Regions from separate parts of the Homo sapiens genome. Here regions 1, 2 and 3 are each linked to region 4. Evidence: promoter capture Hi-C in 16 types of primary human blood cells and fetal thymus (Javierre and others, 2016). All regions are on one chromosome and are shown on one strand. Each heading gives the region's core, a stretch centred on a gene start or on the middle of the fragment in contact. The rest is flanking DNA. Distances are from core to core; before and after follow the strand shown. Region 1 has its middle 45 kb from the start of LINC02129. Region 2 overlaps LINC02129 (long intergenic non-protein coding RNA 2129). Region 3 holds the start of KDM8 (lysine demethylase 8). Region 4 holds the start of ZKSCAN2 (zinc finger with KRAB and SCAN domains 2).

The links. Contacts are between HindIII fragments. The CHiCAGO score rates a contact against its expected background, and 5 or more counts as called.
Region 1: a fragment that was not itself captured here is called in contact with the fragment with the promoter of ZKSCAN2 in region 4 in 1 of 17 cell types (endothelial precursors); the score reaches 7.7 in endothelial precursors.
Region 2: a contact is called between a fragment that was not itself captured here and the fragment with the promoter of ZKSCAN2 in region 4, in 2 of 17 cell types (endothelial precursors and naive CD8 T cells). The highest score is 7.8, in endothelial precursors.
Region 3: a contact is called between the fragment with the promoter of KDM8 here and the fragment with the promoter of ZKSCAN2 in region 4, in 2 of 17 cell types (endothelial precursors and fetal thymus). The highest score is 10.9, in endothelial precursors.

What each region holds. Positions count from the first base shown.
Region 1 is chr16:27,128,129-27,134,717 of GRCh38, forward strand. It overlaps the pseudogene EEF1A1P38. Among named protein-coding and RNA genes, the nearest start is that of LINC02129, 45 kb to the right of the region's middle. The HindIII fragment of the contact is 952 bases long and covers 1,861-2,812 here.
Region 2 is chr16:27,163,350-27,170,131 of GRCh38, forward strand. The region is part of intron 2 of LINC02129 (long intergenic non-protein coding RNA 2129); the gene reads right to left. Among named protein-coding and RNA genes, the nearest start is that of LINC02129, 9.8 kb to the right of the region's middle. The HindIII fragment of the contact is 2,579 bases long and covers 3,973-6,551 here.
Region 3 is chr16:27,198,322-27,205,599 of GRCh38, forward strand. KDM8 (lysine demethylase 8) reads left to right here and starts at 5,205. Exons shown (of 8, transcript NM_024773.3): 1 at 5,205-5,315. RefSeq lists an enhancer at 5,250-5,409. The HindIII fragment of the contact is 9,655 bases long and covers 1-6,097 here.
Region 4 is chr16:25,254,970-25,262,564 of GRCh38, forward strand. It overlaps ZKSCAN2 (zinc finger with KRAB and SCAN domains 2), which reads right to left and starts at 2,876. Exons shown (of 7, transcript NM_001012981.5): 1 at 1,760-2,876; 2 at 237-423. The coding sequence starts at 2,158. It overlaps ZKSCAN2-DT (ZKSCAN2 divergent transcript), which reads left to right and starts at 2,608. Exons shown (of 1, transcript NR_170220.1): 1 at 2,608-6,097. RefSeq lists enhancers at 2,242-2,802, 3,218-3,537, 3,658-3,737 and silencers at 2,488-2,727, 2,808-3,007. The HindIII fragment of the contact is 3,031 bases long and covers 1,973-5,003 here.

The DNA.
Region 1 (6,589 bases), core at 1,087-3,586, 1.9 Mb after region 4:
AAGCCTCATCTCCACTAAAAATACAAAAATTAGCCAGGTGTGGGGACAGGCACCTGTAATCCCAGCTACTAGGGAGACTGAGGCACTAGAATCACTTGAACCTGGGAGACGGAGGTTGCACTTGAACTCCGGGAGACAGAGGAGCTGAGATCACGCCACTGCACTGCAGCCTGGGTGACAGAGCAAGACTCTGTCTCAAAAAAAAAAAAAGAAAAGAAAAGAAAAAAATCTGTATACAGTGAATTGGCACCTCAGTTCAAAATTTCCCTTCTATCTTATCTTCGTGCCTAAGTGAAACTTCAATTTTAACATACTATTACACAAGACCGTTGTGCAAATAACAAGACTGAATAGTATTAATTACCATTCCATGCATTAAGTTGTGCTGGGCAAATAGCATTCATTATTATATTTAATTATCATAGCAACTCTGAGAGACAAGTTACTTTTGTTATGATCCTCATTTTACAGATGAAGAAACTGAGGGTCAGAGAGGTAAGTGACTTGCCCAAAGGTACACACTAGGAACCAGAAAAACAGGGACTTCAACCCAAGTCACGCTGGTGCCAACATCCCTACTGGCAAGCCATATGAACCTCCCTGCCTTGAGCTTCTTCAGTAACAAGGTCAGGAAACTAAAGTTCCCTGACATCAGCTGTCTGCCTGTTGGTCAGCAGTGGTAGTGACAACACCAGTATTTGTACCCAGGTCCCTGTCACCAAAGCTGGTGACTATACGACCTCCATGTTTGTCAGGCATCCAGTAGGTAGTAGGTACATGATAACATCAGCTCCTCCTTCCATCTGCTGGGAACAACCCAGTTAATCAACCTAATGGCTTTCCTTTCAAGAGTACCAATCTCTTTGGCATATCCAGCAGATATACCCAAGGTTTCTTAAGATTTACACTTCTCTGCACCCCATTCCCATGACCATCCCTTAAGAAGTCCCCTCTGTTTCACCCCCAACTTCCCTTTGAAAGATCTATTCCCGTCCCTCCTCCCAGAAACTGTCCAACACCGCTGTCCTCCTTGGTCAATTGTTCTAGACGTATTATTTATGGCAAACTCATTTGTCCCTAACACAAATGTAAGATGTAATTCCCCAAGAATTCAAATGTAATTTAAAGTTATTTTCCAATATCTAATTTGCCTTTTATTTATTTAGGGCAATATTTCAGCAGGAACTTCCCAGCCAAAGTGCCAGCATTTGTTTACAGTGTCAGGCCCAGCAATGGTGGGTAACCACACACCCCAGACACAGACATTACCGATTAAAAAAGTAATTACAACATTGAACACAGCCTTAAATAAAAGCAAAAATGCAGGAGACAAGAGGGGAAGCAAAAACATAAATGGAAACAATGCCGTTTTCCCCAGACGTTTTGTAATATTTGCAGCCTGCCTGGTACTGGCACCCTGCCCTGGCTGTGCCAGACACAAGCAAAGCATCCAGTGAGGAGGGGTGGGGTGGCTCTGCTCTGAAAAGAGGTGGAAAGAAGTGCCTAATCATCAGAGAACATCTGTCTGCCTGTTTGCCTGTCTGTCTGTCTGTCTTTTGTTTAACATCTTGCTCTGCTGAGCACCCACTTATACTGATCCTCAGGGGATTAATTGCATACTGTGTTATGGCAAATGACCAAAACCCCACACAATCAAACTGACTTAACTAGGAAATGGGTATGTTCTGGTTCATGACAGACCATCTGTAGTTCTAGTTTCAGGCACAGTTGGATCCAGGGGCTCAACATCATGTAGAATCTCTCAGTCTCTATCACTTGGCTCTTCTTTCCACAAAGTTGACTTCATTTTCAATCAGGCATTCTCTACCTGGTGGCTAACATAGAATCCTAGCAGCTTTAAGCTTACATCCCATCAGCTTAGTGTTCCCCCAAAGAAAGGAAGTGCTTCTTTTCCCACCATTCTAGCAAAAATATCAAGTCAGCCTTTCATTGGCCCAACTTGGGTCATGTGCTGATCCGTGAACCAATAATTGTAGCCAGGGAGTTTCAGTCCTTTCATTGGCCAGGCCTGGTTCAGATTCCCACCCCTTGAGAACAAAGGTAGGACCAGTCCCACCCAAACTGAGACTGAGAGCGAGGAAGAGATAATTCACGAAAAGAAAATTGAGGTTCCCATGAGAGCTGAAGGAGCAATAAGACACTGGGTGAGTAAACACGACTAATTTCCACCACAGATTTGAACACTTTCTGTCTGTTTCTAACACCTCTACTCTTCCTACAGTATCTCCAGACCACATTTTTAGACTTGTGAGCACAGTACAGTGACCTCTGCTCCATTCTTGGGAGGATAATAGGACTGTCCTATAGAATGTCAAACTTGCAGATTCTTCCCTCGATTTTATTAAAAGATTCTGTAAACTATAACATAGCACAACTGGGAACAGATGACATTTTGTAGCCACCAAGGGTAGCCTGCTTCAAGTGGCCCAGGACTTCCTTCAAGATGAATATAACAAGAGTTTTTGGGTTTGAATGAGTCAAATAATTGCTGTCTAATTGTCTAACAATTAAGTCACAGGAGAGGCAGGAAGTATAGTTGCTGTAAGCATTTTTGAGTAGTCACACTTTGGACCTGACCCCAAATCAGTGTTCCTGGTTCCTGCTTATACCCCAAGGAGTGACTGTGTATGCGAACTGATAGAATTGATTGTAGAGATGTAACTCTGGGGCCAAATGTGTGTAGCTCTTGGCCACACTTAGCACTGAAGGAGTCGGATCATTCTCTCTCAATGGATATCCAGAAACTGGGTCTCACATAATCACAGAACAAAGCATTCACAAGACTGTGCAAAGCTTTCTTCAACAGCAACCCCTCTGGCAACATGAGGCAACTGCAGCAGTGAACTAATCAGACCCCTGTCCTTAGCCACTTGTAGGTTAACCATGGGCAGACATTCCCCTTGGAACTAAGAACACCTGTATGGTTCACAGATCATTTAAGAGGGCACAGAGAACTCCACAAGAAAAGTGATGAACATTCTACTAATAAGGCAGGTGGTTGCGGAAGCAATTCGTAGGGAAAATGAAAGCACTCTGCCTCATTCAGGCCCCAAGTTTGTGGAGATGTTCTTGCTGCCAACACAAGGAATAAATGAGAGTCTGGATCTAGGTTCCTAAGAACCATTCCTGGTATATAGGAATATAGTAATATTTGGCCTTTTATAATTCCAGTCAACAGCACTTTTTCCCCTTTTAAATTTTTTTTTAATTTTTTGAGACAAGGTCTTGCCCTGTCACCCAGGCTGGAGTACAGTGGTATGATCTCAGCTCACTGCAACCTCCACCTCCTTGGTTCAAGCGGCTTTTCTGCCTCAGTCTCCTGAGTAGCTAGGACTACAGGTACACACCACCTCACTTGGCTATTTTTTTTTTGTATTACTGGAGATGGGGTTTCACTGTGTAGGCTAGGCTAGTCTCGAACTCCTGACCTCAAGTGATCCATCTGCCTTGGCCTCCCAAAGTGCTGGTATTACAGGCATAAGCCACCACATCCAGCCATTTTTTCAGTTTTTATTGTTGTTGTCACTTGCCAGAGACCATGATTGTCTCTTACTCAAACACCACTGTATTTAATGTAATCCCATCTGAAATTCTGTGAGGTAGATAGCATTATCATTCATCCCCACATTATCGATTTTTTTTAATGGAGGTTCAGAAAGGGAAGATGATATGCCCAAAGTCACACCATGGTAGAACCAGGACTAGAACTCAGATTTCCCGCTCCCCAACTAGTGCTTCCATTAACTAAGGGCTTTGTGTTCTCAAACACAATGGGCAAAGGGAGACAGAAAACTTGTGTTTCTTGAACATCTGTGATGGCAGGCACCACGCTGGGCATGTTTACATATATCAGCTCATTTACTCTTCTCCACAGTCCCATGAGGCCTCTGTGGTATCATTTCCCCCATTTTAGTCAAACGGAGGCACAAAGAGAGAGGCGGTACCTTTCCCTGAATCACTGTACAGCAGGAGTCTCTGATGGGATTCAGCATAAAGAGGACATTTTTCCAGGAAGGAAGCTCCCTGCCCAATGGGACTGGTGGAGTCTCATCCTCACTCCTACTCTCCAGAAACATCACTGAACCACTCCACTCTTCCCAGGAAACAAATTCTGGGCACACTCCAGGGTCCCTGAAAAAGACTCCCTCACCTCCAACTTTACCAGCTGGCTCCATCCAAGAGTGAAACTGGCCCAATTTTCCCATAGAATTAGGGGTGTAAACATATACAACTTTGGTATAAAAGGAAAAATTGAAGTTATTTGTTAAATATACTCAGTTCCTAATTGGTATCCATCTCTGTACTAAACATCAAAAAAATAAAGTCCAGACTCTCAAGCATGTAAATGAACAATTTTACAATTGTTCATTTGATTATAAGTCTGTGATATGGTTTGGCTGTGTCCCAACCCAAATCGCATATTGAGTTGTAGCTTCCATAATCCCATGTGTAGTGGGAGGGACCCAGTGGGAGGAAATTGAATGATGAGGGCTGGTTTTCCCATGCTGTTCTCATGGTAGTGAATAAGTCTCACAAGATCTGATGGTTTTATAAAGGGCAGCTAGTTCTCCTGCACACACCCTCATGCCTGCTGCCATGTAAGATGTGCCTTTGCTCCTCCTTCCCCTTCCACCACGATTGTGAGGCTTCCCCAGCCATGTGGAAATGTGAGTTCATTAAACCACTTTTTCTTTATAAATTACCCAGTCTCAGGTATTTCTTCATAGCAGTATGAAAATGAACTAATTCAGGCTGCTGCAAGGAACAGGAAAGGGCCAGAGACAAGGCAAAGCTGGAGCATGCTAGAAGACAGATCTTGTCTTGAAGAGTCTAAAACTATCATTAAAGTCTCCCTGAAAGTTTGCAGATTACACTTAGGGATTTATAAGTGCTCAGCAATAACTTATTAAAATTTTAGTGTGTTCACAAATACTAGCACATTCTGGATCATCTCCCTGACAACCAGAATGGAATCCATGCAATGATTTGATTTGTGATCATTTTGGGGTCTAGTAATAATGTGTGTTTTTTCTCATTAAATTTTGTTTTAATGGGTCTCAAAATTCTGTGACAGATTTTTGGTCAAGTTGCTTCCATTGAAAAGTACTGATTTTAAAAACTAATAATTTAAAACTGCCACACGAAAAAACAAAACAAAACAAAAAATCAAAGTGGTCCACAAAACATTCTCCTTTCCTTCTGAAGGTTTTATGATGCATTGTTATCATTAACCAGTCTTTTACCATTAAACTTAAATGGGCAATTGAAACAAACAGTTCTGAGACTGTTCTTCCACCAATTAAGACCAGGGTAGCAGGTATTAGGGATAATATTCATTTAGCCTTCTGAGCTTTCTGGGCAGACTTGGTGACCTTGCCAGCTTCAGCAGCCTTCTTGTCCACTGATTTGATGACACCCACAGCAACTGTCTGTCTCATATCACGAATAGCAAAGCGACCCAGAGGTGAATAGTCTGAGAAGCTCTCAATACACATGAGCTTTCTAGGAACCATATCAACGATGGCAGCATCACCAGATTTCAAGAATTTAGGGCCGTCTTCCAGATTTTTACCAGAATGGAGATCAATCTTTTCCTTCAGCTTAGCAAACTTGCAGGCAATATGAGCCGTGTGGCAGTCCAGTACAGGGGCATAGTCCACACTTATTTGGCCTGGGTGGTTCAGGATAATCACCTAAGCGGGGAAGCCAGCTGCTTCCATTTGTGGGTTTTCTTTTTGCTGTCACCAGCATCGTTGCTATGACGAATCTCCTTGACGGACATGTTCTTGACATTGAAGCCCACATTGTGCCCAGGAAGAGCTTCACTCAAAGCTTCATGGTGCTTTTCAACACAATTTACTTCAGTTGTAACACTGACAAGAGCAAAGGTGACCTCCATGCTGGGTTTGAGAACACCAGTGTCCATTCGGCCAACAGGAACAGTACCAATACCACCAATTTTGTAGACATCCTGGAAAGGCAGGCGCAAGGGCTTGTCAATTAGACAAGTTGGTGGTAGGATGCAGTCAAGAACCTCAAGCAGTGTGGTTCCACTGGCATTGCCATCCTTACAGGTTGCTTTCCATCCCTTGAACCAAGGCATATTAGCACTTGACTCCAGCATGTTGTCACCATTCCAACCAGAAATTGGCACAAATGCTGCTGTGTCAGAGTTGTAGCCAATTTTTTTTTTTTTTTTTTTTTGAGATGGAGTTTCACTCTTGTGGCCCAGGCTAGAGTGCAATGGTGCAATCTTGACTCACTGCAACCTCCACCTCCTGGGTTGAAGCAATTCTCCCGCCTCAGCTTCCTGAGTACCTGGGATTACAGGTGTATGCCACCACGCCCAGCTAATTTTTGTATTATTAGTAGAGACTGGGTTTCACCATGTTGGCCAGATGGGTCTCGAACTCCTGACCTCAGGTGATCCACCCGCTTCAGCCTCCCAAAGTACTGGGATTACAGGCATGAGCCACTGTGTCCTGCCAAATTTTCTTAATGTAAGTGCTGACTTCCTTAACGATTTCCTTGTATCTCTTCTGGCCATAGGGTGGCTCGGTGGAATCCA
Region 2 (6,782 bases), core at 4,012-6,511, 1.9 Mb after region 4:
GTATAAACATTGAATATAATAAAGCCTTCTTCCATGGCAATACTTGTTGTCTCAGTGATTGGCTTTCTGTGCAGCAGACAATGAGACCTAGAACAAAACCGTAGTATTGAGTAACATATGGATGAGCCACCCCCACACTGATGTGTTGAGCTCCCCATGGGTTAAGCCTCTTATTCAAAAGGGCATGGCATTTCTTCCTCAGAGTAGCCTGTATTCTATGAAACATTATGTTTCACTTTGTTTCTACAAAACTGACCCAAAGATTTTCTTGTTCTTCTTGCTTTGAATTCTGCAGCTATTTACAGCTCTGTACGCTACTGTGGATAAAGCAAAATGGCAAGTTGCACTGGGATCCTGGTGTTTGAGGAGAGTGGAGCATCCCTGCTGCATGCCTGGGAAACAGCAGATGTTGAGTAAATGATCATCACACCTGGGGTGGGCTCCCGGGCCTACTTGCCTTGTTCTCAGTAGTGACTTGGATTTCCCTGCTTTTAAAAGAATCTTTGGCCTCAAGAGTCCTATTTTTCCACCATCAGTATTTAGGAGATTACCCAAAGGGTACCTGCATGTACTCACAAAGTGAAAAGTGAGCCCCCTGGGATCAGCTGCTACCTCACCAGGTACCCCCCATCACCCCATACCTCCCGACATCACTGCTGTGTGGTGCTCTGCAGCAGGGAAGGGAAGTAGGGGAGGAAAACCATTTGTTTGTTTGTTTGTTTTTCTTTTTTAGAGATAGAGTCTTCCCACTGCAATCATAGCCCACTGCAGCCTTGAACTCCTGGGCTCACTTGATCCTCCTGCCTCAGCCTCCCTGAGTAGCAAGGACTACAGGCGTGTGACACCACACCTAACTAATTTTTTTATGTTTTTAGAGACAGGGTCTCTCTGTGTTGCCCAGGCTGATCCTGAACTCCTGGCCTCACATGATCCTCCCACCTCAGCCTCCTGCATAACTGGGATTTGAGGTATGAGCCACTGCACCCAGCCAGATTTTTTAAAATGTACTATGTCACAGTGGCCTCATATCAGAGCCACTTGGGCCCCATGTGTTCCAGTGTTTGCTGAAACTGCTCTTTCTGTCTTTAATTTCAGCTCTCTCCAACCCTGGAATGAGACAGCCTCCCACAGGGTGGAGCTGCCAGAAAGAGCTGAGTAGCCTCTTTGGCTTTAACTATAGAAATTTTCTTGATTATGGTAGACCCTTGGGGATATCTGTTCCAGCTCAGGATCAATTCTCCTTCCCTGGAAACTGCCAATGGGAGGGACCTTATCAGAAATATTTGCACTGTGTAATTCTACTCCCTGGACACAGTGATTAGACCAGGCATGGCCAACTGACCCAAATTGAGCCAACCAGATTTATTTCTCATAAGAATTTAGTGCTGAGGCCAAGATAAACGGGGCTAATTTCTGTAATGGTTGAAGCTTGTAGCCTTGGGGGCTGTGAAATATGGCCTCCATATGAACAGAAAATCTGAGAAAGTGTATCTGTGTGGATGGACAGAGAGAAACAGAGATGAGATGTAGAAAGCCAGACACAGTGGCATGCACCTGTAGTCACAGCTACTCAGGAGGCTGAAGCAAAAAGATTCCTTGAGCCCAAGAATTCAAGACCAGACTGGGCAACATAGCAAAAGCTGTCCCTCAAAAAAGAAAAAGAAATCTTGTGCTTCTTTTTTAAATTTATTTTCAACCTAAGAAAGATGAATGAAGAAACAGCAACAACCACAACCCCAAAAAAAGAGAGAGAAATGGCATGCTGATACCTTTCCACTTCCCAGCTCCAGGCCTTTCTTAAGACTTAGGGATATTCCTGCCTTAACTTTCGTGAGACACCTCCATATCCTAGTCAGAGTCGTTGGTTGCCAGCAACAGACTCCACTATGGCGGCTTTAGGTCACAAAGGCATTCATCAAAGGACATTCATCAAGTCTCCAGAAGAACCAGAGAATCAAGCTTGGACCCCACAAAGCCAGAAGTCCCCAAATTACACTGCAAGAATACTGCAACCAGGCCCCTACAGCTATCCTGCCCACTGCTAGTGCCAGGCCCCTCCTCACGCTGTTCCTGAGAACTGGGTCCTGTACTCCTGCTGCAAGGAAAGCTACAAAGCAGCACTCCTGACTTCTGACATGGAGAGGCAGAGCTCCTAAATAAAGAGACTTCTCATAGCTATTCAAAAGAAACCACACTGGCCAGAAGCAGCAATGCATGCCTATAGTCCCAGCTACTCGGGCAGCTGAGGCAGGAGGATCGCTAGAGCCCAGGAGTTCAAGTCTAGCCTGGGCAACATAGCAAGATCCCATTTCAAAAAAAAAAAGGAAGAAAGAAAAAAAGAAACAACATAACCACATTGCATTACAAATGTCTGCAACATCATTGTGGTAACTTCTGGCTGCAACAGAGTCTTATGATAAAACTCTGTGCCCCAGCTCTGATCACTGGAACAAGCTGGATAGGTCCATTTTCTTGCCAGGGTGAGACCAAGGAGGTGCCCAGAATGGAAAATTTAAGGAGGCCCTCACTCTCAGGCTCGTGAAAGTGCAGGGTCAGCTCCTGAGAGTGGGGTCTCCTTAAATGTTGTGCCCTGAATGCCTCACTTGCCTTATCCTCCTCCAGGCCCTGCTTCTTGCTGCTCCTAAAGGCCTTTGCTTTCTGGATATTTCTCAGTCCTCCTGCAAACGCAGATGGTAGGCCCACACCTACTAGTGTTCTGGGGATATCCCAACATGCCCATGTCCACTTAGAATCCACTGGAATTTCTGACACATTTGTTTGATGCACTAATTAGTTAATAATGGGCCAGACACAGTGGCTCACACCTGTAATCCCAGCACTTTGGGAGGCTGAGGCGGGAAGATCACTTAAGCCCAGGAGTTGGAGACAAACCTGGACAACATAGTGAGACCCGCATTGCTACCAAAAAGAATTTTTTAATTACCTGGGCATAGTAACTTGTAACCTTGGGAGCTCTGAAACATGGTCCCCACATGAACAGAAAATCTGAGAAAGCATATCTGTGTGGGTGGACAGAGAGAAACAGAGATAAGAGGTAGTAATGTGGGCAAGATGGCACATGCCTGTAGTCCCAGCTATTCAGGAGGCTGAGGTGGGAGGATCACTTGAGCCCAGGAGGTTGAGGCTACAGTGAGCTAAGATTGCACCACTGCACTCCAGCCTGGGTAACAGAGCAAGACCGTGTCTCTAAAAAAGATAAAAACAAAATAAAATAAAAAATTAACAATGTTAACAGAAAACACTTCTTGCACACTTACCTTGTGCCAAGCACGCAGGTGTTTCATCAACACCACAGCTCTAGGCAGTATTCACTACCATTATCTCTGTTTTCCACCTTCTGAGGCACAGACAGGTGAAGGGGCTTGCCAAGATCACACAGCAAGGAACAGAACCAGGATTTGGACCCAAATCTCCCCACTGCCCCTATGAAGCCCCTTCAAGGAAAGCAGCTGCCTGTCTTTGAAAGCCAAGGAAACAGTGGAAATGACAAGTGTTAACCCACTCGTGGCATGTTAGAATGACTGTGGAGCTATTGAATCCTCGGCCCTTAAATCCGCTAATTACAGTTACAATCAATGGCATTAGTGTAAGGGCTCATTCTATTACCAAGACGGTGACGCCGGAGCCCACCAAGCCCACCCACTCCACCAACCACAGGCTCTTGAAATGAGCTGAAATCTGCCTGCTTCTGACCGGTCATCTGGGGCCAGATTCAAGCCTCCAGGCTCAGCCTCTCTTTCCTCTCTGTGGCCTGGCCGGGAGGACAGGTTGTTTTCTTCAGAATCGCCACCCAGACCCAAAAGACAACGGGTTTCCAGAGGCCCCGCACAGCCTTGGCGATGGGAAGCAGATTTTTGCCATTTTCTTCTTTTAGCCAAGGGACATTTAATTAAGGCTCACAAAACCCGCCTAACATATGATCATAATTATATCAGCATATTGGGGCTGGGAAGCTTTAAAGCCCAGTTACAAGTTGGTCAAAGACAGGCATGCAGAGGCCTGGAGAGGGATGGGAGAGAGGGGAAAATGTACTCTCTGGTGACACCAAACCAAAACCAGTAAGGGAACGGTGAGTGGGATTTGCCTGTGGGATAAGGGAAGGGGAAAGGCAAAAGCTGGGCTCTGGGGCGTGTTTTGATATTGGAGAAACTCACACGTTTTACAGGATGCACTTCTGCTCAAAGCAACTGTTTAGGCAGGGAATGGTGGTGAATAAGGCATGAATGAGAGAGCCCAGTAATCGCTGATGATAGCAATGACGGAAAACACAAATCACAGTCCCTTTCATCAGCATGTTTTCATCTTTGGCATTTAACACTAGCCTAAAGCCCAGGAGAGACTCAGAAAGTGTTCGTGACTTGTGCAGGGTTGTATTGGTGCTGGTGAAAATATTGGTGATGGCGGCCAGGAACCATGGCACACACCTGTAATCCCAGCACTTTGGGAGGCCGAGGCGGGGAGCATCGCTTGAGGCCAGGAATTCGAGACCAGCCTGGGCAACATAGAGAGACCCCATCTCTACAAAAAAAAGTTTTTTAATTAGCTGGGGGAGTGTATATTCGGGGCAACTTGAATGTATGCTCCCAGGTTACAAAAATTAAAAAAAAATAAAAATTAGCCATGCATGGTCATCACACATGCCTGTTGCCTGGGTGTTTGAGGTTCTAGTAAGCTATGATCGTGCCACTGCACTCCAGCCTGGGCGACAGAGCAAGAACCTCTACCTTAAAAAAAGATAAAAAAGATAGTTGGGGGGACAACAGTGATGGCAAGCACAGTGGAATGATCGTGACAGGGCTGGGGGTGGTGAATGAAGTCGATCACTGAATGGTGATGTGAATGGTGATGTGAACAGGCTCATAGAGTCGGGTGGTGATGCTGACAGTGCAGGTGGAGATAGTGGCAGCAGAGAGGCAGTCATGGCAGGGGGATGGAAGGGTTGATGATGCTGATAGCGGTGGTGATGAGGGTGTCAGGAAGACGGTAGACATGGTGACATTGACAGTTTGGTGATGGCTCGGTGGTGGTGGTAGTGCCCAGGGTGATGGTTATTGTCATGGTCATAATAAAGGACGGTGGGCTGGTGATGGGCTGGTGGTGACATAATATGAAGAGGACAGTGGTGCATAGCGGCCCATGCTGAATGAGGATGGTGATAATAGGGTGGTGGTGATAGGGATGGTGACAATGGTAGGGGAAGAAAGATGAAGGAGGATGGAGAAGGGAGGGAGGGAAGAAGGATCCTGGAGCATCGGCGTCATCAGGCTATGGACAAGAGCTTAGTTCCATTTCTTACCCTTTGGTCACTAGAAGTCAAAAAGCTCATTGTCTGCCAGGACAGGGACCCTTCCCCTGCCACCACTTCGGCTGAAATGCACAATCCTGCCCTGCAACAACACCCTTCCTGGTGGGAAGATTGGCACAGACCGGGTTTCATGAATGCATACACACCCTCCCTCTCGCTATTGTCTAAACCATCAATTAAGTTCCCCGGGGAGTAAAGACAGCAGTACCGTGTGGTAGTTAAGAATCTGGGCTCTGGAGTCCTCTTCGATTTAAATTCTCAATTGTGCTGTGTGACCTTGGATGAGTTGCTTAACCTCTCTGAGCCTCAGTTCATATGTATAATGAAGCTCATAACAGCACCTGCCACCCAGGATTGTAGTGAGAAGGATGGGAGACGATGCTGCAAAACACGTGGCCCATCAGGAGTCATGGCTCAGTGCCCCATGGGGAGTCAATGATGTTGGTTACCATTGTTATCATCTACCACTGCTTTTGGAAAAGCAGGAGGGAGGCTGGGTGCGGTGGCTCATGCCTGTACTCCCAGCACTTTGGGACACTGAGATGGGTGGATCACCTGAGGTCAGGAGTTCGAGACCAGCCTGACCAATATGGTGAAACCCCATCTCTACTACAAATACAAAAATTAGCCGGGCATGGTGGCATGTGCCTGTAATCCCAGCTACTCTCTACTCAGGAAGCTGAGGTAGGAGAATCACTTGAACTCGGGAGGCAGAAGTTTCAGTGAGCTGAGATCATGCCACTGCACTCCAGCCTGGGCAACAGAGCGAGACTGTCTCAAAAAGAAAGGGAAGGGGAGGGGAGGGGAGGGGAGGGGAGGGAAGGGAAGGGAAGGGACGGGATGGGAAGGGAAGGGAAGGGGATACAATAGAATCTGATCTCCAGGATTCTGGGAGATGAGGGAGTTGGCATCAAAAGTCCCCTTTTCCCAGACTCTGCAAGCTCTTCAGTGCCATCTGTCTGTGCAAACACACTCAGCAGGTCACAAGAGGCAGGCTGCTTGCACAGCAGCCGCTGCAGAAGTTAGGCCGGAACCCCATCACAACGGGCATCAATGAGTCAAGCTGGTTTGCCTCTGGCTGGAAACAGTAGGGACAGGCTCTCCACTAGAGCAGTCTGGTGGTGTAATTTAAGTGCCCCGCTTGCATACATAGTCTCCAAATCTGATCATAGCCCTCTGGAAGTTCTGTGATCTATTGAATCATGTCGTATTCTTCCTGTACTTAAGCTTGCTGGTGTGGTTTCTGTGGTTTGCAACAAAGAATCTTGAGTGATAAAGCTGAGTTCTAGCCTGACTGATAAAGCTGAGTTCTGGCCAGGCATGGTGGCTCATGCCTGTAATCTCAGCATTTGGGAAGTCTAAGGCAGGAGGTATTGCTTGAGGCCAGTAGTTCAAGACCAGGCTGGGCAACATAGCAAGATTCTGTCTCCACAAATAAAAAAAACACAAAAATTGG
Region 3 (7,278 bases), core at 3,955-6,454, 1.9 Mb after region 4:
CGCTCACTGAGAGAAATGCATATCTGATGGATTCCTTTGGAAAGGCTAATCAGAAACTCAAAAGAATGCAACAATTTGTCACTTATCCACCTATGACCTGGAAGCCCCTTCCCTCCTTCGAGTTGTCCTGCCTTTCCAGACCAAACCAATGTACATCTCACACATATTGATTGATGTCTCATGTCTCCCTAGAATGGATAAAACTAAGCTGTGCCCCAACCACCTTCGGCACATGTCATCAGGACCTCCTGAGGCTGTGTCACAGGCCCGTCCTTAACTTTGGCAAAATAAACTTCCTAAATCGACTGAGACCTGTCTCGGCTATTTAGGGTTCACAATACCTATTTCATGAAGACGACATAGAAGTTAAGAAGAAATCACTTATGCAGATAGCCTTTTACCCTTGTAAAAGGCCTTTCTTTTTCATGAAAAGCAGCCCCAAATCATTTTCTAACAAAGAGCAGCCTGTAAAGTTGAGCTGCAGATATAGACAAGCAAGCTGGGAGCTTGCATGGGTGAATGAGGGCAGGAACTAACAACTAGACATTTTCAAGATGGTGGCTCCATCTTCCCTTCTCTGCCAGCCACATGTACTGTAAGAAGCAGACAAGATGGCGCTGATCAACTGGAAAGCCCATTTGCATAATAAGATTAGGGTGAGGTGACTAGCCTTCTGCACGCACTATGTAAACGTCACACTTGATCTAACCAATCTATGAGCCCCATGTAAATCAGACACCGCCTCCTCAAACTGGACTATAAAATTTGCGCATTTGCTGCCAACCAGTCTTTCCCACTGAGACACCCCTTCCTCGATAGAGGAAGCTGTTTCTCTTTCTCTCCTCTTCTACCTATTAAACCTCCGCTCCTAACCTCCTCATGTGTGTCCATGTCCTAAATTTTCCTGGCTGCAACAATGAACCCCAGGGTATATATCCCAGACAACATAGCCACTTCAGAGGTGGACACTGAGGCTCAGACAGAAAGTATCCCGGTCTGCCTTACTTTATGTTGGGGGCTATTTGCTTGTACCCCAGGGGAACCCACTCAACAAAACACCTGGTATTTTGCTCTGAGTCTTCACGCAAGGTCATTTTAGGCTTGCTAGCTCCCGGCTGAAGGTCACATGCTGAAATGAAATTGAAAGCACAGAATAACTAAGTGAGCAGACCCTCCACCTGGAAAATCCAGGTGGCATCAGTGGAAGAGCCAAGACATGGGAGGTTTTCATGTCTATTTTTAAGCAATTGAAGTAAATTAAATGTCTCTTTCATGGCCAAGCTACACGTTGTTTGCAAGTTTGGAGCTTTGTTTGTATGTATATATTTTAAATAAATTTGATAATTAAGTCACGAATGCTCCCAGCACACTTGGATATATTTAAATTACAGGCTTCTGATCAAATGGAGAAAAATCACAAATATGGGCCTAAATGATGCCTTTTTCTGTTCAGTGGCTTTTGCAGCATTCAAATGGGTCTGTCAGCTTAATGGCCAATTCTAAGGCTGCTGGGAATGACAGGAGGTGGAGGGACTGGCAAAGAGACTACAGGAAGTGAAACCCTGTGGTGAAAAATTGTGGTTCTTTTAAGAAAACATTTCATCTGCGCCTGTAATTCATTTCAACAAGCCAGTTTTGAAAACACAAACAAGCTGGTAAAAGGGGTGTTTGTCTCTGCCTGACTGGCAGCACTCCATACCCACCATTAACAGCCAGTTCCTGAACACTGTGGCTTCTGGAATCAGGGGGTCCCAGGTCAAATCTCCTTTGGTCCTTGCTGTGGTGCCTGTCTGGGCAAGTTGGAGATTCTAGTGCCCGCCCTACTGTAGTCTCTGTAGAGTAACTGCCCATCCACTGTCAAAACAAATTCAGATCTAGTAAAGAGTGGCTTTTCCCATCCCTATGTCCTGAATGGTATTGCCTAGGTTTTCTTCTACAGCTTCTATGGTTTTAGGTCTTATGTTTAAGTCTTTAATCCATCTTGAATTAATTTTTGTATAAGGTGTAAGGTAGAGATCCAGTTTCAGCTTTCTGCATATGGCTAGCCAGTTTTCGCAGCACGATTTATTAAATAGGGAATCCTTTCCCCATTGCTTGTTTTTGTCAGGTGTGTCAAAGATCAGATAGTTGTAGATGTGTGGTGTTATTTCTGAGGCCTCTGTTCTGTTCCATTGGTCTATATATCTGTTTTGGTACCAGTACCATGCTGTTTTGGTTACTATAGCCTTGTAGTACAGTTTGAAGTCAGGTAGCATGATGCCTCCAGCTTTGTTCTTTTTGCTTAGGATTGTCTTGGCTATGCAGGCTCTTTTTTGGTTCCACATGAAGTTTAAAGTAGTTTTTTCCAATTCTGTGAAGAAAGTCAGTGGTGGCTTGATGGGGATAGCATTGAATCTATAAATTACTTTGGGCAGTATGGCCATTTTCATGATATTGATTCTTCCTATCCATGAGCATGGAATGTTCTTGCATTTGTTTGTGTCCTCTTTTATTTCCTTGAGCAGTGGTTTGTAGTTCTCCTTGAAGAGGTCCTTCACATCCCTTGTAAGTTGGATTCCTAGGTATTTTATTGAATGGGAGTTCACTCATGATTTGACTCTCGGTTTGTCTGGTATTGGTGTATAGGAATGCTTGTGATTTTTGTACATTCTACTATAAAGACACATGCACACGTATGTTTTTTGCAGCACTGTTCACAATAGCAACCAACCCAAATGCCCATCAATGATAGACTGGATAAAGAAAATGTGGCACATATGCACCATGGAATACTATGCAGCCATAAAAAAGGATGAGTTCATGTCCTTTGCAAGGACATGGATGAAAATGGAAACCATCATTCTCAGCAAAGTAACACAAGAAGAGAAAACCAAACACCACATGTCCTCAATCATAAGTGAGAGTTGAACAATGAGAACACGTAGACACAGGGAGGGGAACATCACACACTAGGGCCTGGCAGGGGGTGGGGTCCTGGGGGAGGGATGGCATTAGGAGAAATACCTAAGGCAAATGACAAGTTGATGGGTGTAGCAAACCAACATGGCACATGTATACGTATGTAACAAACCTGCACGCTGTGCACATGTAAACCAAAACTTAAAGTATAATTTTAAAAAAATAAAAAAGAAAAATCCTATTTGAAGGAAACAAAAAAGAGTGGCTTTATTTGAAAGGATTATTGCAAGGTGCAGGAGGGACTTTTTTTTCTTTTTTTTTTGAGACGGAGTCTCGCTCTGTCATCCAGGCTGGAGTGCGGTGTCTCGGCCCACTGCAAGCTCCGCCTCCCAGGTTCACACCATTCTCCTGCCTCAGCCTCCCGAGTAGCTGGGACTACAGGTGCCCGTGACCACACCCGGGTAATTTTTTGTATTTTTAGTAGAGACGGGGTTTCACTGTGTTAGCCAGGATGGTCTCAATCTCCTGACCTCGTGATCCGCCCGCCTCGGCCTCCCAAAGTGCTGGGATTACAGGTGTGAGCCACCACGCCTGGCCAGGAGGGACTATTATAACAGGGGAAGGGAGACTTGCAAAAGAGAGTACACTGTGGCCACAAGGGTTAGGCCAAAAAGAGCTTTTCTTTCATAGGAAGAAGAAAACAAGGCTAGAAAGAACCTGGAAGTGGGGTGAAAGGGTGACATGATGGGTTAGTAGATCAGAGAATATATCAACCTGAGGCCAGCCTATTCTGAGGAGGGGCTGTCTGCTGGCCCAGGCCCAGGGTGAGCCAAAGTTCAGGGGCCTGGAGGAAGGAAAGAATCTTAACCAAAGTGGTTGACCAGCGTTTTATAAGGATTGATTAGTGGGACAAGCAGTTCAGGTAATCACTTATAAGACAATGAATGAGAATTGGAGGGTCTGTGTCCTGTTTACCTGCTCTCACAGGTAAACAATGGGGGTGGTGTCTTGGAGTCTTATCTAAATTCTCTTGTGGGGGTGGGGGGTGATTCTTTGCAGTAAACTTTTTTCCACAACACAAAAGGGTGAGAGCAATTCCTTTTTACTTTTTTCCGGGGACACAAGACTCAGGGAAAATTCAACATTGTCACTACTCAAGGGTGGAAACTTAGTGTAGCACATAACCATGAGGATTCTAAACCTGTGGCTGCTGAGTTCAAACACCAGCATCCCAGTGAGCCTGGTGGGTTAGGAGATCTTTCTGTGCTTTACTTGCTCCCTCCCTGATATGGTTTGGCTGTGTCCCCACCCAAATCTCATCTTGAATTGTAGCTCCCATAATTCCGTGTTGCGGAAGGGCCCAGTAGGAGATAACTGAATGATAGGGGAGGTTCCCCTCATACTGTTCTCCTGGTAGTGAATATGACTCATGAGATCTGATGGTTTTATAAGCGGTTTCCCTTTTCACTTGGTTCTCATTATCTCGTCTTCCACCATGTAAAACGTGCCTTTCACCTTCCACCATGATTTTGAGGCCTCCCCAGCCATGTGGAACTGTGAATCCATTAAACCTTTTTGTTTGTAAATTGCCCAGTCTCGGGTATGTCTTTATCAGCAGCATGAAAGCGGACTAATACACTCCCTAAAATGGGGATGAGCATGATCATTACAATAGCTACGATCCTCATATTTTTAAAGTATTTTAGCACCGTACCTAGAATCCACTAATCTATGAACTGATCCTGAGCAAGCCTGTTTCCTACTCAGACCCCAAGCTCAGTACGAACATAACTTTCCATGCCTCTGTGCAATGCTGCAAAAGGCGTGCATACTTGGAGTCCACAGGAGTGTGTGCTCAAAACACAAAAGTCCCAGTGACCACGCACCACTCGGCATCAAAGCAAAGGTGGCAGGAGTGTGTCCCCTGGCCACTTGCCTTCTCACTCGAACAGACTGTGGATGCAGCACTTGCTCGTGGGTAATTGTGGATCTGACTTTCCAAAAGTACAAGTATGTGGCCACTTTAATCACTGAGCCTCAGTTTCGCTCTCTGTAAAATAGGGAGAACTAATAATCCTAGCTGCAGAGATTAAATGGTGGATGCAAACAGCCTTGTACGAAGTTGTTATCTGTGCAGAGGAAAAAGCGGTATCACTAGCGTGGAAGGACCCAGAGGATACAGCCAAGCCTTTCTGTCTTCTCCATCCCCCGGCCTTTTAAACAGCAGTGGGGCGGGGCCACGGCATCGATCACTCGGCGCTCCTCCAGGCACTGCGTCGTGATCAGACGAGCGGTGAGCGATCGATACTCCTATGCTAGCCTCTGGCTCCTCAGGGGACACAGCCGAGTGGTCGGACCAAACGCAACGAGTCTTCGCCAGCCCAAAGGCGACTCGACACCGTCCCAGCTGAAGAGAGGTTAGTCTGAGCAACTCGAGAGCGGAGTCAGCTCCAGTTCCTCAGAAGTGGAGAGGCCGGGTTCAGAGGCATAGACCGCGCAGGCGTCATGTGAAGCAGCCAAGCCCGGCCTCGCGCGTGCGCCTTGGAAAACCCCGAGGGTGGCTCGAGTTGCCGCATGCGCTCTGAGAATGCAATTTAGCTCGTCGCCGGCCTGCCCTGCGGGAGGATAAAGGGAAAGGTTCCGCGCGTGCGTATGCTCGTCTCTTGGCAGTGGTTTTGCGCATGCGTGAGGGCAGGCCCTTACGGCGGGCTGCTGTGCGCTTTAGCGGTTCTTGGCGTCGCGTTGGTGTAGGCCTAGTGCGCCTGCGCGGGTTTTATACTCTGCTATATGTGTGTCCGCTGCTTTTAGGCAACCAGCCGCTGCCCCTGGGCCGCAAGGCAGGCTGGAAACGATTCCGCCGTCAGGTCCCAAATATGAGCCGCGAGAAATGCAGCCCCGGGGAAGGCGCTGAGGAGGGAAGGGGGTCTGAGGCCTCGGGGCTCAAGGCCAGTGCGGGGTACGGGGGACCCTCTGGGGCCTGGGTGTGTGACTGCCCTAAGGAAAGGTGCTTGTAGCTCGGTAGGACTTAACGATGGGCATCGGTGCGTTTCCCGGCAACGGTAGGAATCGCCGTGCTCAGGAGGACTCGGGAGCAAGCCCGGGGACAGGAGGTGCGCAGGCGTTGGGGCCACACGGACGACCCAAACACAAGACTGTGTGCCCCTTAGAGAGCCAAAGGGATCCCTGTGCCATGAATTAAAGCTTTCTGGAAAATGTTCCAAACTTTCCTGGGAAGTTTTACGAAGCTCTTGTTTTTGCACAATTTTTGTGGAATACTGCCATAATAACATTGAGGAGATTAGAGAACTGGACCGCCTGTTCCCAGAAAGCTAGGTGTAGGCTGATCTGTCCTGGAAGCCCCTTTTGGGAGGCTTTCTCATGACCAGCATGGTGCTTGCAGAGTGCCCACCCTGAGACCCTCTGCAAATCACAGTGAGGCTCTCGGAGAGGCCATTCCACCCAGCCACCTTAAAGAATACTCAGGGAGGTGCTTTAGAGGAGTTGATGTTTAAAAATAATTTAAGGCTGGGCGCGGTGCCTCACACCTGTAATCCCAGCCCTTTGGGAGGCCGAGACAGGCCGATCACTTCAGGTCAGGAGTTCACAAGACCAGCCTGACCAACATGGCGCAACCCCGTCTCTACTAAAAATAAAAAATTAGCTGAGTGTGGTGGTGCACATCTGTAATCACAGCTGCTTGGGCGGCTGAGGCAGGAGAATTGCTTGAACCTGGGAAGCGGAGGTTGCAGTGAGCCAAGATTGGGCCAGTGCACTCCAGCCTGGGTGACAGAGCGAGACTCCGTCTCAAAAAAAATAATAAAAATAATTTGAGAGAATCCTAGGATGACAGGGCAGTGGCTTCCAAGAGGGATATATCCCATAACCTACCAGGGACCTACTTTGCCAGTTTGCATAGTGAATTCTGCCTGGATGGTGAATTTATAAAGTCCAGGCCTGAGTCTATTCCGGCTGTTTTATACAGGTTATACTTGGCTCCTTTTTGTTTAGTACGACCAACAAGAAGGCTTTTATAAGATTCATTTTAGTCTTATTTATAAATCCAGGAGAAAAACCACTCAGAGGTTAGCACATAACAGCCTATATTCTGACCTTCTTTGCAAGATCATTTCATACACCAGCAGACAAGACTTTATGTAAGGAGCATTTAGGGGCTGAATCAAGTCCACTCAAAAGCTGTTTTATGCAACCCACACTTGATCTCCCCCTGAAAGCTGTTCCAGGTTATGAGGCCAGTTCACAAAGCCAGGACATAAGCCCACTCAAGCTGTTTCTATACCTGACCGCCCCCCTCCCCACAAAAATAAATAAAGCCTTCTCTGGGCCGGGCGTGGCGGCTCACACCTGTAATCTGAGCACTTT
Region 4 (7,595 bases), core at 1,626-4,125:
TTTTTTTGCGATTTTGTAGAGACTGGGTTTTCCCATGTTGCCCAGACTCAGTTTCCATCTTTATGATACCTTTTCACTTATATTGCACATGTTCCTAATTCTTGAAGTGAATGAAACCTTTCTCCTATTCTGAATATGTATCAAGGAGGCCCTCCACTGCACATTCACAGCGTTGGGGTACTGCGGAAATCTGCCCCAGCCTCTGCACTAGGCGTGCTCCGAGTCTTCCCTCTTACCATTCTTGGGTAAGGGCCGACGTTCTCGCTTTCGGTTCAGCTGTTCCTGGTGTCCTGAGTGGAGGCTTCCAGGTTCCTCCCGAGACACCGCCCTGGGTTGGGTCTCCACCTGCTCTGGCTGGAAGTCTGCCACCTCCCACGCTGCTCCAAGTGGGGAGTGCTTCTCCCGGTGCACGGGACTGCTGACCTGAGAAATGAAGTCAATACCATAAGAGGGAGTAAAACAGGCCCATATCAGGGCGAAATTCTCCCAGGAAAGACATCAAAGAAGGACAGAGACATGAGAAGGAATGAAAATTCCACTCCATTCCCAGTGGAGTCTCTGAGAGCGCTGGGCTGAGAGTACTGTCCAGCAGTCTGGGTGTAAGGTAACAGAACAGTGTTCTTTTTTCTGAGACAGAGTTTCACTTTTGTTGCCCAGGCTGGAGTGCAATGGCACGATCTTGGCTCACTGCAACCTCCACCTCCCAGGTTCAAGCGATTCTCCTCTCTCAGCCTCCCAAGTAGCTGGGATTACAGGCATGCACCAACACAACCGGCTAATTTTATATTTTTTTAGTAGAGATGGGGTTTCATTATGTTGGTCAGGCTGGTCTCGAATTCCTGACCTCAGGTGATCAACATGCCTCGGCCTCCCAAAGTGCTGGGATTACAGATGTGAGCCACCGCGCCTGGCCAGAATAATATTTAATACTAAACAGAGAAGGAAATCTGTCAGGAGTGAAAGAGCCTCCTTGTTGCTAGAATAGATATTATTTGACTCTATATCTGTTACGTTCGCAAAGAAGTTACCAGGACATGAATATATACAGTAGTGAAATGAAAACTTACAAAATTAATATCCACATCTATCTGTCTATCCCTGACCAATACAGCAACCTGCTGATAGATCTCTACACAATGCAAGTCTGATGCAAGGTGAAACCGCAAATCTTGCAAATGCTGCAGGATTTCACGAGGTTCATGAAAGTGAGGTTGAAGAACAACTAGAAGAGCATGCAAGCCACTGAGAAATGAAGATGTGGCAGTTAGACTGGAGGAGAGTGACAGAAATGAAGGCATGAGAGCACTTCAGAAGACACTGAGTGCAACAGTAAAACGCTTGGAGACGGCTCTGGGATAACGGATGAAGTCTTTTTTTTTTTTTTTTAAAGGGGGAACAGAATAGCCTTTTTTGATCAAAATGCGTAAGTGAACCTCTGTGACGCAAAACCATATTGTTCTCTTATATTGTTTTGTTGCAAACATTATGCCAAAGATGACGATAAATGCTTAGGTGAATAATGTCTGGTTTCCATTGTAAGATAATATTTCAATCAAAGCTTTTATTTTTCTATTTCATGTGAAATTCTGATCCCCTTTTAAGTGGATTCACTTAAAGTGAAAAGACCCCCTTATAGGGTCTTTTATTAGTACCATTTATCTTTCTCTGAAGAGCACGTCTTTCTGCAATACATCCCTGCCCACATGCCTTTCCCATTCCCTTTTTTCTAAGTACAAAAATTTGGAAAATCCTCTCTCACCTGCTGTCTTAGTCTTCCAGTCTCTTTCTCCAAATGCACTACCAGGGCCACCGCTTCCTCTCCACTTTGCGGACACTGCTTCTGTGCCCAAGCCTGAATCTTCTCGGGTAAAATGGTGAGAAACTGCTCAATCACCAGCAGCTCAAGTATTTGCTCCTTGGAACGCATTTCTGGCTTCAGCCACCGGCAGCAAAGTTCCCAGAGTTTACTGAAAGCTTCATGGGGTCCAGTCACATCCTCATAACAGAATTGCCTGAAGCATTTGCGGAAGGTCTCAGAGCTATCCGATCCTTCCAGAATGGGCTCTGATGCCCACTCAGGGTCCTTTTCCACCTTCATTATTAGGCATCCCTCAACCTCCAGGGGCGCGTCGATCTGAGAGTCGAGGGCGACAGCCATGCTGCAGCCCAGGGGTCAACTTCACGTCTAGCTCAAGGTGGGGACCCAAAGAAGACTCCAAGCGCTCCCTGCTTAATGTTCCTGGGAGTGTGATAAGGTACGGAGGTAAAAACGGCCAGGTCGGCAGGAACAGGGTATTCCAGGCTGATTAATCAAATCTATGCCAGGCCCTTGAAAAGGTGAACGTATACTCTAAGATGCAAAAGCCTGGCCTCTTCTCCAAACAAGATGTGACCGCGCAATGTGGTTTTCCAGAGTGCATCCCTCTTAGTGCAAAGTCGGAAACCGGGAGGCTGGACGACTGGGAGAAAAATGAAGCAGGCTGAGGAAAGGCTGGGCGGAGGCGGACAGCCGGGCCGGGAGGGGGTGTGTCCGCTACTCCCGGGTCGGGCGCGGAGAGGCGAGTCCCCGAGTGGGTGGGGCCGGATGTGCAGGCCCCGCCCGGCGCCAGGTTCCGGGCTCGGGTCACCGCAGCACGTCCAGGCCGCCGCGGGTGCCGCTGGGGCCGCCGGATTCCGAGAGCGGCGCCGGGCTCTTTCGGGCCCACGACGGCCCCGACCGTCCTGAGGAAACCGCTGCCGCCGAGGAAAGGCCGCAAAAACTGTTCCGCCCGGAAGGGAGAAGAGCTGCGGGGCGAAGCCAGGGCTCGCAGGGGGCAGCGGCAGGCTGCTCGCGTTCGGCCTCGTCCACTCGGCCCGCGGAGAGCGCGGGGGGCGCTGGGAACCGCAGTCACGCATGCGCCGCCTGCCACCGAGCGCCGCGGGGCCCGCGCGAGGCGTCCTGGCGGGCGAGGGGCTGGGGGAGGGGGGGGGGGCCGTGCGGTGGACTCTCGCGAGAGCGCGCGGCGCGGTGACTCGTCGCTGAGGGACTTTAAGATTGTAGAGGGGCGCGGAGGGTCCTCCCCGGGGCGGAGGGACACAGAGGGATTCTAGGGAACCTGCCGTCGCGAGTCCCGCTTCAGGCGGAGAATCTAGGCGGCGGCGGGGCCTCCCTGAGGCGGAGGAGTCGGCACCGGGGCCTGGCTGCCGGGGAAGGAGAGCACGGGAGCGGGGACTCCTGTGTCTGGCGGAGGGACACGGCGTTCCGGTGGAGGGATCTGTTCCTTGTACCTGGTCCAGGGTTGCGGTCGGGGATGGAGCGGTTACCCCGACCCTGCGGGACCTTCTTCCTCTGGCGGAGGTGCACGGCGCGGCGTGGTGTTTTTCTGGCGGAAGTATCTGTGCGTGGCCCCAGGCCCTTCCCGGCGCGGTCTCATCTGGGGCCACTTGTTGGCCCTCGCGTTGGGGAGGTTCATGTGGTGCATCCTGATGAGAAGGGGGGTCACAGGGGTCTCGGGGCCAGGGTTCAGCCAGCCAGGCCCCAGCTTGCTCTCTTCTGGTGCTGCCCCTGTCCCTGAATTCATAGACCCGGCTTTCCCTCTCTTGAGCACCTACTATGTGCCAGGCTGCGCTTTGCGCATGTAGCAGAGGCAACAGTGTCACCTGGGAAGCTGGTTTCCCCCAAAGGAACTCTTGTCTGTCCGTTGTTGCAGAGCCAGCGCATGAGACCAAGTGTGAGTATCAGGCAGTGCAGCCTTCATTCAGTGGCCATGGAATTGGAGAAGTGGGAGGGTAGCTCGCAAATCAAGCTCTCAGCTCTTGGAAACTGAGAAGTTACAGGTAATAGGGAGTGTTGACGAAAAGTAAAACCGTGCAAAATATTTGAAGAGATTTATTGTGAGCCAAATACGAGTAACCACAGCCTGTGATACAGCCCTCTCGAGGCCCTGAGAACATGTGCCCAAGGTGGTCGGGGTGCAGCTTGGTTTTATGTTTTAGGTTGGCATGAGACATCAGTCAAATACATTAAATACATTGGTTTGGTCCAGGAAGGCGGGACAACGCAAAGGGGTGGGGGTGGGGGCTTCCAGGCTATAGGTAAATTTAAATATTTTCTAGTTGACAATTGGTTGAGTTTGTCTGAAGACCTGGGATTGATAGAAAGGAAGTGTTCAGGTTAAGATAAAAGATAGTGGAGACTAAGGTTCTTTTGAAGTCTTATGGTGGCTGCTCTTAGAGATAATAGATGACAAATGTTTCCTATTCAGATCTTCAAAAGGTGTTAGACTTTTAGTTAATCCGTTTAGGATTGGGAGGGCCTGGAAGAAAAACATCTAGCTATGTTAATAGATGTTCTTTACAGATGCACATTTTACCCCACAAAGGATAGCTTTTGGGGGAAAATGCTGTCCTTTATGGAAGAAATTGCAAAATAGGGCAAGGAAACATGTTTTGGGGTAAAATATTTTGACTTTCTTTTTGTCACGTAATGTTATGCCAGAGTCAGAATGGAAAGTAAGTCATCATATATAGGATTAAATAAAACCCATCTGATGAGAATTTATGGTTTGTAGGTCATGACTCCCCAGATCCCTTAGATAGGAATTTGGGCAGGATTAAAAAAATCAAGAGTTTAGGCTGGTCGTGGTGGCTCACGCCTATAATCCCAGCATTTTGGGAGGCCAAGGCAGGTGGATCGCTTGAGGTCAGAAGTTTAAGACCAGCCTGGCCAACATGGCGAAACCCCGTCTCTACTAAAAATACAAAAATTAGCTGGGCATGGTGGCACACGCCTGTGATTCTAGCTGATTGGGAGGCTGAGGCATGAGACTCAACTTGAACCCGGGAGGCGGAGGTTGCAATGAGCTGAGATTGTGCCACTGCACTCCAGCTTGGTTGACAAAGTGAGACTCTGTGTCAAAAACAAAACAAAACAGAAAAAAAAAACAAAAGAATCAGAGCTTAGTCGTCAGGTGTCCTTAATGAAGGGGCTGGGCATTAAGAGCAAGGCGAGGAGGCAGAAGGAAAGCTTGAGCCCAGGAATTGGAGACCAGCTTGGGCAACATGGTAAGACCCTGTCTCTAAAAAAAATAAAAATTAAGAACAAGAGGAGGAATATTCATGTTTTTTCTTGGGAAGGGAGGTAGATTTTCCTGGAATCAAGGAGCTGCCCCTTTTTTTGTCCTTTTTTTGGTCTCTTCGGGTCATCACGGTGATTGTCAACTGTCATGGCAACCAGTGGGAATGTCATTTAGTACTGAAGTTGGATTAGAATGAAGCTAGAGGTTCTTCAGAGGTCGAGTAAGCTAAGAAGGAACCTATGACCACAGACAACCTGTTTTCTAAAAATAAGCAGAGTTAAATCTGAGTAGGAATTTAGCTATGTCATGGAGGCATTGCATTGGGTAACAAAAGCCAGGTAGGCGTCCAGCTAAGTCCCCTAGGCCCTGCAACGGGTAACAGCAGTACTGACTCTATGTTAGAGAAAAGCTTGCTTGCTTGAGTATAATTATTGTTTTGCCTGAGTTTGTAAACTATTCACTAAAAACAGCCACAGAAAAAAACAGGACCTTCTTCAACAGATAAAACACACAGACCCGCAGCTTTGGGAACAGGCTGATGGCCCCTGCACAGTCTAGTCACAAGGCATTGACCAAGAAAGTAATGACTAACTGCCCATCTGAGACTGCGCATGATTCACAAGAATGTTTCTTTGTTTTGTTTTTTGAGACAGTCTTGGTCTGTCTCCCAGGCTGGAGTGCAGTGATGTTGGTTCGCTGTAGCCTCTGCCTCCTGAGTAGCTGGGACTACAGGCGTGTGCCACCGCACCTGGCTAATTTTTGTATTTTTAGTAGAGATGATGTTTGACTATGTTGGCCAGGATGGTCTCGAACTCCTGACCTCAAGTGATCCACCTGCCTCGGCCTCCCAAATTGCTGGGGTTACAAGTATGAGCCACCGCTCCTGGCCCACAAGAATGTTTTGATCATTATTTCTCCTAATTTTCCTTAAAATCCCTGGATCTAGAGGCACAACTGAGAAAGGTGGTCTTTGAATGCTAGTGCACTGCCTTTTGCAGGTTGCTGGTTTCTCGAATAAAGCTAACTTTGCTTTCACCAAAGCTTGTCTTTTGAGTTTTTGGCTTTCAGGCGACGAGTGGCCTGGACACCAGTTCGGCTACATGTATGTCAGTGGGCAAAACAAAAATCCTTATTCTGGGAGGTAGATAGCTTATTAGAAAACACAACCTAATCACTTGTTTCCCAAATGTTAAAAATTGAGCCAATTTTAGCCCCAGAAGCTTAGGGTACCATGTACATAACAGGCATTACCTGAGGGTGGGGCAGAGAGAATCAGTGGGGTACCTCGTATATGCCAGGGGTTGTATCAGCATCCTTACACAGCTCATTTTTCTTTTTAAATAATACTTATTGAGGACCTATTTAATGCCAGATATGGTGGTAGGTAGGGAGCAAAAGCAGGATTCCCCTCCCATTATTGAGTTTTCAGTCTGGTGGGAGAGGCAGGAATTAAATAAGTAATCCACAAACTCAAGTACAATTCTAAGGGAGATGGGTGCCACCAAGAAGAGACATGGTGCTGAGAACCTATGTCTGTCAGAGGGATTTGATCTATTTGGGAGGTCTGGAAAGGTTTTTTTGAAGAAGCAGTGCTAGGGGTGAGATCCAAAGGAGAAGAGCTAATTAGGCAAAGCCTAGTCCTCACAAAAATCCTATAAACCAGATATGATTACCTTCATTTTAGAGTTTAGGGCATTGAGACTTGAGCAAGGTGATGTCACTGCCCAAGGTTACATCAGATTAAATGGCAACCCAGGATTCAGATTCAAATAAGAGTAGGGTTCTTTATATTCTCCTTGGGCTATTTGGTGGTTTTAGGAGAGGCAAGTATCACAAACAGCTTGGGGACATGAGGGAGCAGGAATCACAAACTTGAAAGCCTGCAGAGCTCAGGCAGATAGCATAGAGTGAAGTAGGGCAGAGTGTAAGACAATAGGGGATGGTGGGGAGTGTGGTGAGCTGAAGGCCACATTTCCTGTCTAAAGGAAGCAGCCACTAGTTCCAGTCTCTTGTTGCCATGCAGGATTACAGACCAAGCCCTGCTGGATCTTCTGATGATATTATTTTGAGGGCTTGGCGCGGTGGCTCACGCCTGTAATTGCAGCACTTAGGGAGGCCGAGGTGGGCAGATCACAAGGTCAGGAGATCGAGACCATCCTGGCTAACATGGCGAAACCCTGTCTCTACTAAAAATACAAAAAATTAGCTGGGCGTGGTGGTGGGCGCCTGTAGTCCCAGCTACTCTGGAGGCTGAGGCAGGAGAATAGCGTGAACCCGGGAGGTGGAGCTTGCAGTGAGCCGAGATCGCGCTACTGCACTCTAGCCTGGGCAACAGAGCGAGACTCCTTCTCAAAAAACAGGCTAGAGTGCAGTGGTGCAATCATAGCCCACTGCAGCTGGGACTGCAGACACATGCCACTACCCGGCTAATTTTTATATATTTTTTTCAGAGACAGGGTCTCACTATGTTGCCCAGGCTGGTCTGAAACTCCTGAGCTCAAGTGATCAGCCTGCCTTGACCTCCCGAAGTGCTGGAAT